Regions from separate parts of the Homo sapiens genome. Here regions 1 and 3 are each linked to region 2. Evidence: promoter capture Hi-C in 16 types of primary human blood cells and fetal thymus (Javierre and others, 2016). All regions are on one chromosome and are shown on one strand. The core of a region is centred on a gene start or on the middle of the fragment in contact, and the rest is flanking DNA. Distances in the headings are between cores, read along the strand shown. Region 1 holds the start of ZNF530 (zinc finger protein 530). Region 2 holds the start of ZNF230 (zinc finger protein 230). Region 3 holds the start of ZNF416 (zinc finger protein 416).

Region 1 (4,324 bases), core at 267-2,766, about 14 Mb before region 2:
CCCCTTCTTATCTCTCAGTCCCAATACCAGAAAATCAGAGCCGACCTACAATCCAAAATTCAACCATTTCTGCCACACTGTGGCCACTACTCTGGCCCACATCATCTACACTCACCTGGACTATTGCAGTAGTCTCCTCTTTCCTCTTTGGTATTGCTACCAACTCCCTTAAACCCACAGTCTGTTGTCTGTGCTCAGCCACAGGAGCCTCATGAGGCCTGGGGAAGATCACCTCCCTCTTCTGCTCCAAATCTTCATTGCTGCCATCATCTCCAGAACAAAGACATCTGAGACAGCCATTTAGTTTCTAACTCCTGTACCTCTGCTCTCTGTTCCCATGAGAAGGAAATGAGACTTGAGGTTCTCTTAACCAGCTCAGCCTCACCTCCAAGCAGCTCCAAACACCTGTACTTATCTCTGGGACAAACTTCCACATTCATCCTATTATTTGCCAGCAACAGGCACCACCTCATATAATACTCACCCTGGACATATTTTTGTTCAGAGTCCCTAGGCTCAAGGCCTGGAAAAGCGGTAAGTAAAGAATCCCAGGTCACCACAGTCCCAATCCTAGAGATCCCATTGCTGGAATCAATGAGCTTCTGGATTTCCTCCACTTACCCTTGTAGGGTCTTCAAGTGCTTCTTACGGACCTGTAAGTACTAGTGGCAATCTGTGGGAGGAAACATGTTCTGAGAGGCAGGTGACCAAAGTGTGGCTCCATGGACTTCTGGTTCCAATGTGGAACACCAGAGCCAGGTGTCCAGGGATGACTGCTTTGTATCTGGGTGTCAGTCCTTGGTGCTGACTTTTACCAGCTTTGTGACCTCGTAAAAAGACTAGGTCCCTCCATGCCTGCTATCATCACTGCCCTTCCAGCGCGTTCCTCTGAACAGCTTTTGTGAAACTTTTAGAAGCGTGACTGGGGCCGTGCCCCTCTTCTGTCCTACGCGCTGTGGCCCTCAGTGTGCTGGTGAAACTCAGTGGGGCCAATGCAGCGCGGCGCTGCCCCACCCTCTGCTACCTGCACGCGTGAGGCCGGCCTGGGTCTCCCCAGCCTCCCGGCTCAGGCGCAGCTCCAAGCTGTTGCCCGCGCAGCCCCCTGACCGTGTCGCTCTCCCGCTCCCTGCCACACTACCAGAAACGAGATCCAGCACCAGCGCCTCACTGTGCCGGACAGTGCGGTCCGGGCTGCAGAAAACCCTTCACGCGTCCCTCAGTTTCGGGTGGGGAGGGCAGAGGAGGCCGGGAGGACGCAGCGCTCACCTGGGTCGGGGCCCTCAGTGCCGCCGCCATCGGACTCTGGGCGGAGCGGGCCGGGAGCGGTGGACGATCCGGGCGGAGACAAGAGCAAAGCTGTCACCACCGCCGGCGACCGTCAGGCCCCGGCTGTGCAGCTGAGAAAACGACTCTCCTCGCGCCTTCTCGCTGTCAGCACCTAGGTCCAGATCCGGCACCCGCGGATGGAACTGACACAAGCCAAAGTGCCCGCCACAGGGAGGACGCCGGAAGTTCCGCTCCGACAAGTTGGACAGAGCGGAAATGTCCCTCCCCTGAGCCTCATTGGCTCCACGCCAAGAACCTGGCTCACGGGCCTCTGGGTAATGTAGTTCTCACCGCTTCTTGGGCTGGCAGAGGTCGCCCTTCTCCTGGACCTCAGGGAGGAATGACCCCGTTGCTATGGAGAAAGGTGGAGGGGAAGGCTGAGAGGTGGTGTCTCCAGCCTCCTTGGACAAGGGAGGAGCTTCGCTGCTTTTTTAAGGTACCATACAGAGATTTTTGGAGGGTATTGTGTACAACTAGTCACCTAGGTAGTCAGAGTTATTCAGATACAAAATGCCTCTACCCTTGGCGAGAGCCTAGTAAACATTACCTTCTTTCTCCACACATTTATGTAAAGTAGAACGTTAGAGTCAGCTTTGTGAGTTTCATTATGCTCAGTAAGGAATAAGGGAAATAGAGTTTACATAGCGCCATGACAGGAATGATAAAACATCCGTTAGATCGCACCGAAGCTGGAGGACGAAAGAGGAATTTTGTCTCACAGAAAATGCCTCTCCTGCCTGTGTAATCGGTGAGTGTGTCTAGCCCTGTAAGGAACAGTGTTGTATTCATATAATATTTCTTCCTCCATATTCTTAGATATGCTTCTTTTAGGATTGTAGCAACTTTCTAAACAGAAGAGCCACTTAGCATATGCCATTTTAAAGTAGAACAGTGTCTGTAGTGTTCACAGTCAGAGCACTTGTGCAAAGGGGACATCAGAATACCAGAATAAAGGTTTGGGACACCTAGCTTTCATCTCTTTGATGGGAAATTTTGATCATTGATACTGTTACTGCAGGGACAGTGCTTGCATGGGGAGTTGAGATCATCTTAGAAAAACAGTTGTGAAATGAAAATTACTGAAACCTATTGTATTAGTCAGGATTCTCCAGAGAAACACAGAACCAATAGGATACATAGATGTACAAGAGGGGATTTATTATGGGACTTGGCTCATCCAGTTATGGAGGCTAAGAAGTCCCAGGATATACCTTTTGCAACCTGGTAAGACACGAAGGTGGGTGGTATCATTCAGTCTGCATCTGAAGGCCTGAAAACCAAGGGAGCCTATGGTGAAATTCCCAGTTGGAGGCTGAAGGCCTGAGAACTGGGTGAGGGTCATTCTTGTATGTTCCAGAGTCCAAAGGCCCAAGATCCAAGAACTTTAATGTTGGAAAACAGAAGGTGGATGATCCAGGGCAAGAAGAGAGTAACTTGCTCTTTCTCTGCCTTTTTGTTCTATCTTGGCTCTCAAAGCATTGGATGTTGGCCCCTAACACTGATGAGGCCAGATCTCCTTTACATTGTCTACAGACTCAACTGCTAATATCTTCCATAAACATTCTCACAGACATATCCTGTACTAAGGTTTTCCCAACTATTTGGGTAGCCCTTAATGCAGGCAAGTCGACACAAAACATTATACGTCACAACTATTAATAATCTTGTGGCTAGGCCAAGCGCGGTGGCTCATGCCTGTAATCCCAGCACTTTAGGAGGCCAAGGCAGGTGGCTCATGAGGTCAAGAGATCAAGACCAGCCTGGCCAACATGGTGAAGCCCTGTCTCTACTAAAAATACAAAAATTAGCTGGGTGTGGTGGCGTGCGCCTGTAGTCCCAGCTACTTGGGAGGCTGAGGCAGGAGAAGCGCTTGAACCCAGGAGGTGGAGGTTGCAGTGAGCCGAGATCACACCACTGCACTCCTGCCTGGTGACAGAGTGAGACTCCATCTCAGTAGAGAGAAAAAAAAAAAGAATATTGAACATAATTAATTGAACTGAACATAGACTTACTTTGCTTTTTTTAGTGCAGTCATATATAAGTCTATAAGTACATTTGGCTTGGCTCTGGAAATGTTTACCCTGAAGACACATAGAGCAGATAGCTCTTCAGTTGCTGAATTTAAGTCCTGTCTGAAAAGGAAAGGGAGAAGGTGTGGCTCCAGCATGATTTCATATAGAAAGGTAAGTGGGGAGCCCTTCTGAGTGACTCCACAAAGGACTCATTTTGCCTGCATATTTGAGTGTCTAATGGTAATTTTTTTTTTTTGAGGAAGAGTCTTGCTCTGTTGCCCAGGCTGGAGTGCAGTGGCAGGATCATAGATTACTGCAGCCTCAAACTCTTCGGCTTCAGCGACATTTCTGTGTCAGCTTCCTGAGTATATGGGATTGCAGGCACTCACTACTGTGCCCAGCTAATTTTTAAAATATATATATATTTTTTTTTTACAGACAGGGTTCTTGCTATGTTGCCCAGGCTGGTTTAAAACTCCTGGTCTCAAGTGATCCTTCCGCCTCAGCCTCCCAAGTAGCTGGGGCTACAGGTACACACAGCTCTTATGGCAATTTCTTAGGCCAATAGTCAAAGTAGGGAAATAGTGAGCTTGGAAAGTGCCAGAAAATCTGTGTATCTACTTGTTTTTGTTGTTTAAGTAGATAAATTAACTAGGCTGCTCATGGAAATAACTGGCTTGCCAAATTCAATTTGTTAAAATTAATCTCCCTTGAGTTATACAAATACACAGCACAAACATTGCAAAATACATATTTTAAACTAATTTGCAAATTAGTTAATTTTAATTTTTTTAGAGACAGGGTCTCACTCTGTCATCCAGGCTGGAGTGCAGTGGCACAATCAGAGCTCACTGTAGCTTTGAATTCCTGGGCTCAAGCAATACTCCCACCTCAGCCTCCAGAATAGCTGGTAACAGACATGCACCTGCACCACCATGCCCTGATAATTTTTTGATTTTTTGTAGGCACGGGGTCTCGCCATGTTG
Region 2 (4,343 bases), core at 603-3,102:
CATAAGGATAATGGGAATAATAAAATTGAGCATTATATAATATGGCAGTTCACTAGTTTATTCTTTTTTTTTTTTTTTTTTTTGAGTCTCACTCTGTTGCCCAGGCTGGAGTGCAGTGGCGTGATCTTGGCTCACTGCAACCTCCACCTCCCGGGTTTAAGCAATTCTCCTGCCTCAGCCTCTAGAGTAGCTGGGACTACAGGCACGTGCCATCACGCCCGGCTAATATTTGTATTTTTGGTAGAGATGGGGTTTCACCATGTTGGCCAGGCTGGTCTCAAACTACTGACCTCAAGTGATCCACCTGCCTTGGCCTCCCAAAGTGCTGGGATTATAGGCATGAGCCACCACAACCAGCCTCACTAGTTTAGTCTCTATTAGCAATATTTAAAATTTTCTATAGTTAAAAGACATATGGGAAAACACATTAAAATATAACAATTTTTAAAAAAATGTTTATCAACAAATATAGAAGTAGACACAAAGAAAGACAAAAGAAATCAATTAGAAGCTTAACAGTTACTACCTTTACATCTTGGATACATGGGTAATTAAAAAACTTTTTCTACTCTCATTTCTCCTATTTCAGACTTTTCCACAATGATACAGTTCCACAACAGTACGAAATACTTGGAAAACATGAAACAAAATAGTTGAGAAATTTTTAAAAATTCCTAGACGTCCAAGCCCACGAGCCTTGCTCTCAACGTCCTTTCAATCAGGTCCTAACTTGCTTTCCCTACGAGTCCAGCTAGTTCCTCTGCCTCAATGAGAATGTATCCAAGAGGTGATCAACTCAGGCTCTGACCTGGACTGCCTAGGTGCCAACCCCAGCTCTACCTCTCACTAGTTGGCTGCTATGCACCCTGTGTCTCACTCTCATTTTTAAAACAAAGAAAAGCAATACTTCACAGAGCCACAGTGTGGCCTAAATTTATTTGTATAAAGCACTTAGAATGAAGTTACCAATTACGGCTTAATGATTATCAACACCCATTCCCGAGGACACACTCTCGGTTGGGTGAACATCTCTATAAAGGAAAAAAGCCAAGGACCAATCACATAGAGATTTGCCCTCAGTAGCCAAGAAGTCCCCTCCCTGCAGCTCTTTTAGAAAGGTCAGGCTGGGGAAGGCGAAAGTTGTGAAATACCCTGACTGCATCGCGGTCCCCCATAAAAGTTAAATGCTCCCCGCCCTTCGTGGAAGCGGACGCAACTCGCTTTCCTAAAAAGAGGTCAGAAGGCCTCCCGGGATCATCCAGCGTCCTGCAGGGATTAGGGAGAAGGACCAGGGCCCCTGCAGCTGAAGCTATGACTCCACCCGGGGACCTGACCTCTTCGGGAAGTTAACAAGAGACCACCAGTCACCAAGTGACAGGGACTGCTTTAAGGTTCTCATTTGCGTTATCTCTTTCAGTTCCCAAAAACGATTCTACTAGGATGGTTCTAATGTCCCCATTACCAAAAACAGCAATGGAAAGTATAAGGACATTGAGTAACACTCCACGTCACACTGCGAGAAAGCGGTCGCACAGGTAGGGTGGAGAGAGGCAGGCTGAGCGAGGTCAAAGTCCTGGAAACGCTCACAGCAGGGCACAGAGGACCCCGCCAATTCCAACCCCCGGGATGCGAGCACAGCACCCCCATCCCAGAAAGCTTCCGTGGACGGGAAAAAAACCCCATTCCCCGCCCCCACCAAACCTCCGCTCTCCGCCAAGGCTTCTTTTCCCTTGCTTGGATCATCGATCATCGGGTCGTTGCGACCCCAAGCGAAGGTGACAAGTTCAGAAGGACCCGCCAGACGCAGAAATGGCTCAAACTACGCGGTTATGTAGCAACCGCAGGCTCACACACCGGAAGTGCTCGCGTCTCCACAGAGCGTCTGGACTCCACTTCCCAGAATTCCCCGGTTCAACTGCTTGAGCCAAAGGGTCCGCCATTCCATGAAGTTGATGGACTACAGTTCCCAGAATTCACTCGTCCACCCGCCTGAGCCAACTTGCCCGCGACTCAGAGTGTGTCTGGACTCCGCTTCCTCCAATGCCAAAGGAAAATGTCTATAATCTCACTCTTCAGCGGGAAGCGTTGGACTCCGCGGTGGTCCTTGACTACACACACCGCAGTGCCCACCGGGAACGTATTCCATATCTCTGAGCGCCTGGTGGGGAATGTGGACTGTGACCCTGTGAGTCGTCCGTCTCTCTTCCTGAGTCTTTGAGCGAAAATAGTGTATAGACAGGAATTCCTGAAGTCTAAACGCCTCCCACGATGACAGGAGTGTTATTGGGAAGAGAACAAACGAGGAGATAAAATCTTCAAGGATTAGGATAATCTGACGATGGGAGGTTAAAACTAACGGTTTAAAGGATGAGCCAGGTGGAATGGTTTGGCAGGGGCAATGAGGAGCAGGAAGACACCAGCCCCTACTCCAGAAGCTGTGGGACCACTGGTTTGGCAGGAAAAGCCACCCCCATTTAAGATCACAGCTACTAGTGGAGAAGCGGTGTCGTCATGGAATAGCTATCTTCCCATAAACTTTTCATGGTATTCATATTTCTCCTTAGATGTAGAAACATCAAATTTCAGCGAATGTAGTGAATTGCTCAGTACCTCAGAGCAATAATGACTGATGAAGAGCTAGGCATTGGTATCAATCTTACATTGAGATTGTAAATGCAGTAAAACGGGAGGATTCTATAGGTGAAGGAGCATGTCTTATAAAGAGTTTTCTTCCTGGCCAAGCGCAGTGGCTCAAACCTGTAATGCCAACCCTTTGGGAGGCCAGGGCAGGACGTTCCCTTGAGCTCAGGAATTGGAGACCAGACAGGGAAATACAGGGAGACTTCGTCTCTATAAAAATTTTTTTTTAACTGGCCAGGCATGGTGGCCTGATCTTGGGACTACAAGTTCCAAGTACTCAGGAGGCTGAGGTGGGAGGATTGCTGAAGCCCAGGAGTTTGATTGAGGCTGCAGTGAGCTATGATGCCACCACTGCCCTCCAGCCTAGGCAACAGATACCTCAATAATTAAAGATTTTTTTTTTTAAGTTTCTTCTTATTTCTTGGTGAAACATAATTTCTTTATTATAGTTAGCAATTTAAAAACTGGCATTGGTTAAAAAATAATAACAGTATAAAGCTAAATTAGGAAACAATTCATCTAAAAACCTGCTCTTTTGAAGGTAACTTTTTTTCTCCCTATAAACATACATTGGCCTATAAACCAATATTCTTCTTTTTAAAAAAAATGGAGTCTACTGTTTACCTATTTTTCTAAACTAAAAACTTTTCAAAATTTTGTTTAGACACAAAAATAAGGTGACTGTGCCAAACTTTTGATGCCAAACATCCGCTCTCTGAAAATTGAGTGATCACTATTCATATGCCAGTTATAGCTGTATCCTTGATCTACTCTGCCTTCCCGAAAGATAAGATGTATTGACACACTCAATCGTAGCATGCAGGGAACTGAGCCTAAAAGGTTAGGGGCACTTGGCATCAAAGGTCCCTTCTGCTTCCCAGGTCCGTGCACTCTGGGTCTGTGTTGGGAGGAGCAGCCTCTATGATCTCCTAGATGCCTTTGGGGTCATTCTTCCAGTGTTAATGGACAGCAGGTCCTGGCTTCTGTTGACATGACCAATCCAAACTAATCTCCTAAATCAGTTGCTTATCTCTACCGTTGTTTTATCCAGAACAGGTTTTCTAATTTTTTTTTCCAAAGTAGATAGGCTGTGAATTTTTAAAATTCTTAGTTCTGTTTCCCTTTTAATTAATAATTCTGACTTTCTGTGGTGTCCCTCCCACATGTGGGAATTCTGGGAGATACAATTCAAGCTGAGATTTGGGTGGGGACACATCCAAACCATGCCATTGATGACACTGACAAAAACAACAGGGAAAGGACTCCCTATTCAATAAGTGCTGCTGGGATAACTGGCTAGCCATATGCAGAAGATTGAAACTGGTCCCCTTCCTTACACCTTATACAAAAATGAAGCTGGGCGCTGTGGCTCACCTCTGTAAAAATGGGTAATAATGTCCCCACTTTTAGTTACTTGAGTCTTTTTTAGTCAGTCCTGCTAAAGTTTTCACAATTTTGTTAGTCTTTCAGAATAATCAACTCTTGGTTTGGTTGATTTTCTTTGTATTCTTCTTCTGTATTTTATTTATTAATACTTTAATCTTTATTATTTCCCTCCTAATCACTTTCTGTAAGATTCTCCTTTTCTAGTTCATGAAAATAAAATTAGGCTGTGGATGTCAGATCTTTCTTCTTTAATATAAGCATTTACAGATATAAATTTCCCTCCTCCTACTGCTTTTGCCTCATTCCAAAAGTTTTGG
Region 3 (4,606 bases), core at 320-2,819, about 14 Mb before region 2:
TTTTTACTTCTGTGGGGAACCTCCAAACTGTTCCCCATAGTGGCTTTACTAATTTACACTCCCACCAACAGCGTATGAAGTTTCCCTTTCCTCTCTGTCCTGGCCAGCATTCATTATTCCCTGTCTTTTGCATAAAAGTCATTTTAACTAGAGTGAGATGATATCTCATTGTAGTTTTGATTTGCATTTTTATAGTGATCAATGATGTTAAGCATGTTTTCATCTACCTGCTTGCCATTTATCTGTCTTTTAAAATTTTTAGTTTTATGAGTACATAGTATGTATGTATATTTATGGGATACGTGAGATATTGTGATACAGGCATACAATGTGTAATAATCATATCAGGGTACACAAGCATTTATCATTTCTTTGTGTTACAAACATTCTAGTTATAATACTCTTTTAGTTGTTTTTAATGTACAATAAATTACTGTTGACTGTAGTCTCTCTACTGTGCTATCAAATACTAGATCTTATTCATTCTACCCTGTCTTAAGGAGGCCTTGGTAGCCATGCTGAGGTTATGGGGTGCTGCTTCCAAAACCAAAAGTATTATGGGCAGCTGGTATGAAGGATCATAGGCTTATGGTCTGTGAGATCCTGTATGTTTAAGAAAGCCCAGTCTTATTGCCAGTAATTACTGTTTTAATGGTGTATAGCATGAGGCTGAAAGAGACAGTTTCCTGCATTGGAAGCTTTTACTCAACAAATGGCCGTTGTATGTGGTTCAGAGATTCCAAGAGGCATGAGAAGTGTAAACCAAAAATAAAATTCCCAGCCCCCCAACCATCTGAATGCATCCTTCCTCTTGGCCAAGGGCATTCCAAAGTTAATCTGAAAAACTAGTTCAGGACGTGATGGGAAGTGAGGGTCAGACTTGCCCTCCTCCCCTTGGAATTCAGGCACAACTGACCAGCATTAACATTAAAACAGAGATTTTAAGACTTCTTGTAGCAATAAGACAGTGAATTCCAGCCTGATTGTAGTATAGCATTACATGACAGATAGCAGGCCCTGAAAGGAATTGAAGTATTTTACTCTAAACTTTATTTATTTGACATATTTTGAAGAGGCCCTGCAAAGGTGTGTCTTGTGGAATCTGCATTTTGCTGAGAATCCCCTTTCCTCTCCAGGGTTTTTTTATTTTCATGGTCCAGGAAAGAATTAAGAGTCTGGCACCTTTCAAAGTCTGATAGGAAACATTTACAATCTATTCCCTCTGAAGCCTGCTGCGTGAAAGCTTCATCTGCTTAATAAGAACCTTGGTCTCTACAACCTCTTATCTTAACCCAGACACTCCCTTCAGTGGGTATGGGACTGCGGAAATCGGCCAGCGGCCCCTTTAAGGAGCAGCAAGTCCCTGTCTCGCTCTTGGTGTCGCGCCTTTTCCTAGCGCCCTCCGCGGGCCGCTTAGCCCTTGTTCCGGGTGAATCTCAGGGAGGGCACCGGAACCCTGGGCTTCTGAGAACTACATTACCCATAATGCCGAGCGCCAAGCTGCAAAGACGCGGAGCCAATCAACGTTCAGGAACGGACCTGTCTCCGTTTGTTGCATACGGTAAGGCGGGACTTCCGGCACCGCTCCGAGATGGTAATTTTGGTGGTTCTCTACCTCGGCCCACGCCGCCTGAGTTAGAAACGCTGCCTCCGGCACAGAGCGGGGGTCGCCCCGCTGCGCATCAGCCGGTGGGTCGCTGGCGCTGGTGGCAGCCGTGCCTGGGTTCCCGCCCCGGGTCGCCCGCCGCTCCCGGCCCCGCTCCGCTCACAATCCGATGGCGGCGGCCGTGCTTAGGGATTCGACTTCGGTGAGTGCTGCGTCTCCCGGGCCTCACCTGCCCTCTCCGCCGGAAATCCAACACCCTGCATGAGGGGCGCCTGCTTGCGTCCCTGCAGCCCGACCCTAGAGTCCAGGACTATGAGGCCCTCGCGGGTGGGGCTCCCATTTACAAGCCTGGTGTCGTGGGCTGTGGAGGGTGTGGCAGGCGGAGGGGCCGGTTTCTGTGAATCTTGCTGGGACGATTGAGCCAGTAACGTTCACGCCCGAATGGTAAAATGAGGCTCTTTCTTTTCAAGACGCTGAGAGCCATGGGTGGTTGTGAACAGACGAGGCACATGGTCTGAGTTAGACTTTTCAAATTTTTTCTAAAGTTACTCAGAGTTGGAACAGCCTGGAAGGGGGATAACACCGAGGCACAGGGAAGTTGAGTCCTTGTGCAAGGTCCCACAGCAGGTAAGAGTCACACGGAACTGAGGAGCAATAATAATTTAGTCATCACCAAGTCACCTGGCTCCAGGGCTGCGCAGGGAAACAAGGAGGCATCAGCCCATGGAGCTTCCACCATAGTTACCTGCCTCTCATAGCCTTCCTCTTCCCGCAGGTTCCCGTGACTGCAGAAGCTAAACTTATGGGCTTTACACAGGTGAGTGGAGAGTGTTTCGGGCCCTCACTGATGCTGACCCCAGTGTTTGTCTCTGAGATTGTGTTCTGGGACTCTTCTCTTGGCACTCTTTGGGTCCTTGGTTCTAGGAATCCTGAACAAACATCAGTCCCAGGGTCATACATCCAGGCTGGAAGCTGGTATAGAATGGTTCCTATTGCTGGGAACCAGTAAAGTAAGGTGTGGAACGTTGTCTCAGGCTTAGATACCAGATGAGCAAGTGCTTGAAGGTCAGGCTGAGCTGGTTTAGGAAACTACAGCTGTTTTCTTTCTCATGGGAACTGAAAGCTGGGATGCAGGAATCAGACAAAAAATGGCTGTCAGTTGTCGGGTGTTTCTTCTGGAGTGTGTGATGAGCAATGACAGTTTGGGGGCAGAGGAGGTATGTGATCTGATCCAGGTCTCATCAGGTTCCCTGTGTGTGGCCAAGCTGAGAGAACAGGCTGAGTGTGAGGTATGAGATAGGAAGATAGTGAAGAAGGCTGCTGCAGTAGTCCAGGTGAGTGTTACTGGTGGCTGGACTTGTGTGGTGGCTGTGGAGGTGGTAGTTGGATTTTAGATCAGTTTTTTTAAGTAGGGAAGCCTGGATTTTGAGATAGAAAAGTAGGATTTAGGGGTAAAAGCAAGGTGTTTGGGTTTAGCAGCTGGAAATATGGAAGCTCCACTAGCGAGGATTGTAAAGTTGGTAGTAGAGTCAGTTATCTCTAGAGATAATCAGAAATTTTGATATGGACCATCTTTATTTTTAAAATTTTTTAATAAAAATCATCTGAACATGGCCCAATGGGACATCTTTTAGAGTCTGAGATGTTTCAAAGAACAGTTAGTTTAGACATGAAGTGGATAGTTTATCCTACAGGACTAGAACTGTGTTGAGGGATTCAGGATAGAGACATTTAAAAGGTGGTGGCCACTACTTGCCTAGGGGTATAGCTTGGGACACAATTAGGAGGTGGAATCGTGATCACTTTGGTAATGCTATTACCAGCCCAGGGAAGGAAGGTTGGGGGTCACTACTGGCTCTCCTGCTTGGGGACATGGTTGGTCATGGTGGGAATCACAAAGACAGGTATGGGAGAGAGGTGGCTATGGTAGGGTGTGAGAGCAAGGATGATCTGGCAAGTGGCCAAGGATCTAGGAGAAGAGTGGGCATGAGATCAATGCTTGGAAGTAATTGAGACAAGATGACACTGAGACCAGAACTAGTGCTTACTCAGCACTCTGGATATATCTACCAGGGTTTTGTGGCAACCCTTGAGGTGTCAGGAATTTCAGGGAGGTGGATAAGTTGAGGGGCACAGGTGGTCATCTGGGAGTTATTGGGCCTGAGGTGTGGGGGTCCCCTGGGGCAGACTTTGAATGAGGGTTAGCAGGAGAGGAAGGCTGTGACTTAAGAGAGGACATCAAGTGCAGCGCTAGTGCAAGAGGGCCATCGGTGTCAGATCCCCAGGTATTTCTGGGTGACTGAGGATGTAGAAAGGGACAGAGTCAGGCAGGGAGGCCTTCAGAGCAGGGTCTCTGAAGGGCTGCCTTTGGCAGTGGGGACCATTCAGCCTGAGTGGCACCGGACCTCATTTCAGTTTGCCAAGCACTTTCTGAATGTTGCATTCCAACTATCGTGGGGATGCCAGAGAGATGCCTATGGTGTGGGGCAACAGGGTGGAAATAGCCGTGGGAGTGAGATTGTTTGAGAGAGTGTGTGCTTCAAAGAGTGATGTGCATATGGAGAGGAAGTGTGAACTGAACAACCCATGGCCATGGCATTGAGGATATAAGAATGATGGCAAACCTCATCATTGTTTGTATGTGAGTGGCATAATTTTGGAAACCCCAGGAGAACTGTCTGACAAGACAAAATCCAGCCCTATATGCTAGACCCAGAGTTTAAAATGGCATTTCCTGGCCCACCTGCCTGTTGGTGCTGTGGGAAGACACAGTGATGATGGGACCATGAGGAGAGGGCAGGAATCAGTGCCACCAGGTCTTGGTATCTCCTCTGAGGTGGGGCTTAGGTATGGGGATAAGCAGGGAAAGGATGTGTGGGGGGCATGAACTTGGGGTCCTAGGAGAGAATCTGATCATGGAAAGATCTATCCCCATCATGGCAGGGCTGTGTGACCTTTGAGGACGTGGCCATTTACTTCTCCCAGGAAGAATGGGGGCTC

Evidence for each region. Contacts are between HindIII fragments. The CHiCAGO score rates a contact against its expected background, and 5 or more counts as called.
Region 1: the fragment with the promoter of ZNF530 here is called in contact with the fragment with the promoter of ZNF230 in region 2 in 2 of 17 cell types (activated CD4 T cells and non-activated CD4 T cells); the score reaches 7.5 in activated CD4 T cells.
Region 3: a contact is called between the fragment with the promoter of ZNF416 here and the fragment with the promoter of ZNF230 in region 2, in 1 of 17 cell types (naive CD4 T cells). The highest score is 7.0, in naive CD4 T cells.

What each region holds. Positions count from the first base shown.
Region 1 is chr19:57,597,077-57,601,400 of GRCh38, reverse strand. It overlaps ZNF530 (zinc finger protein 530), which reads right to left and starts at 1,516. Exons shown (of 4, transcript NM_001321981.2): 1 at 1,267-1,516; 2 at 622-673. RefSeq lists enhancers at 1,049-1,168, 1,259-1,468. The HindIII fragment of the contact is 5,329 bases long and covers 1-4,324 here.
Region 2 is chr19:44,000,466-44,004,808 of GRCh38, reverse strand. ZNF230 (zinc finger protein 230) reads right to left here and starts at 1,852. Exons shown (of 5, transcript NM_006300.4): 1 at 1,702-1,852. ZNF230-DT (ZNF230 divergent transcript) reads left to right here and starts at 1,939. Exons shown (of 3, transcript NR_110727.1): 1 at 1,939-2,544. RefSeq lists an enhancer at 1,580-2,089. The HindIII fragment of the contact is 6,099 bases long and covers 1,659-4,343 here.
Region 3 is chr19:57,575,874-57,580,479 of GRCh38, reverse strand. It overlaps ZNF416 (zinc finger protein 416), which reads left to right and starts at 1,569. Exons shown (of 4, transcript NM_017879.3): 1 at 1,569-1,808; 2 at 2,382-2,423; 3 at 4,550-4,606. The coding sequence starts at 1,776. RefSeq lists a silencer at 1,660-1,879. The HindIII fragment of the contact is 6,514 bases long and covers 1,246-4,606 here.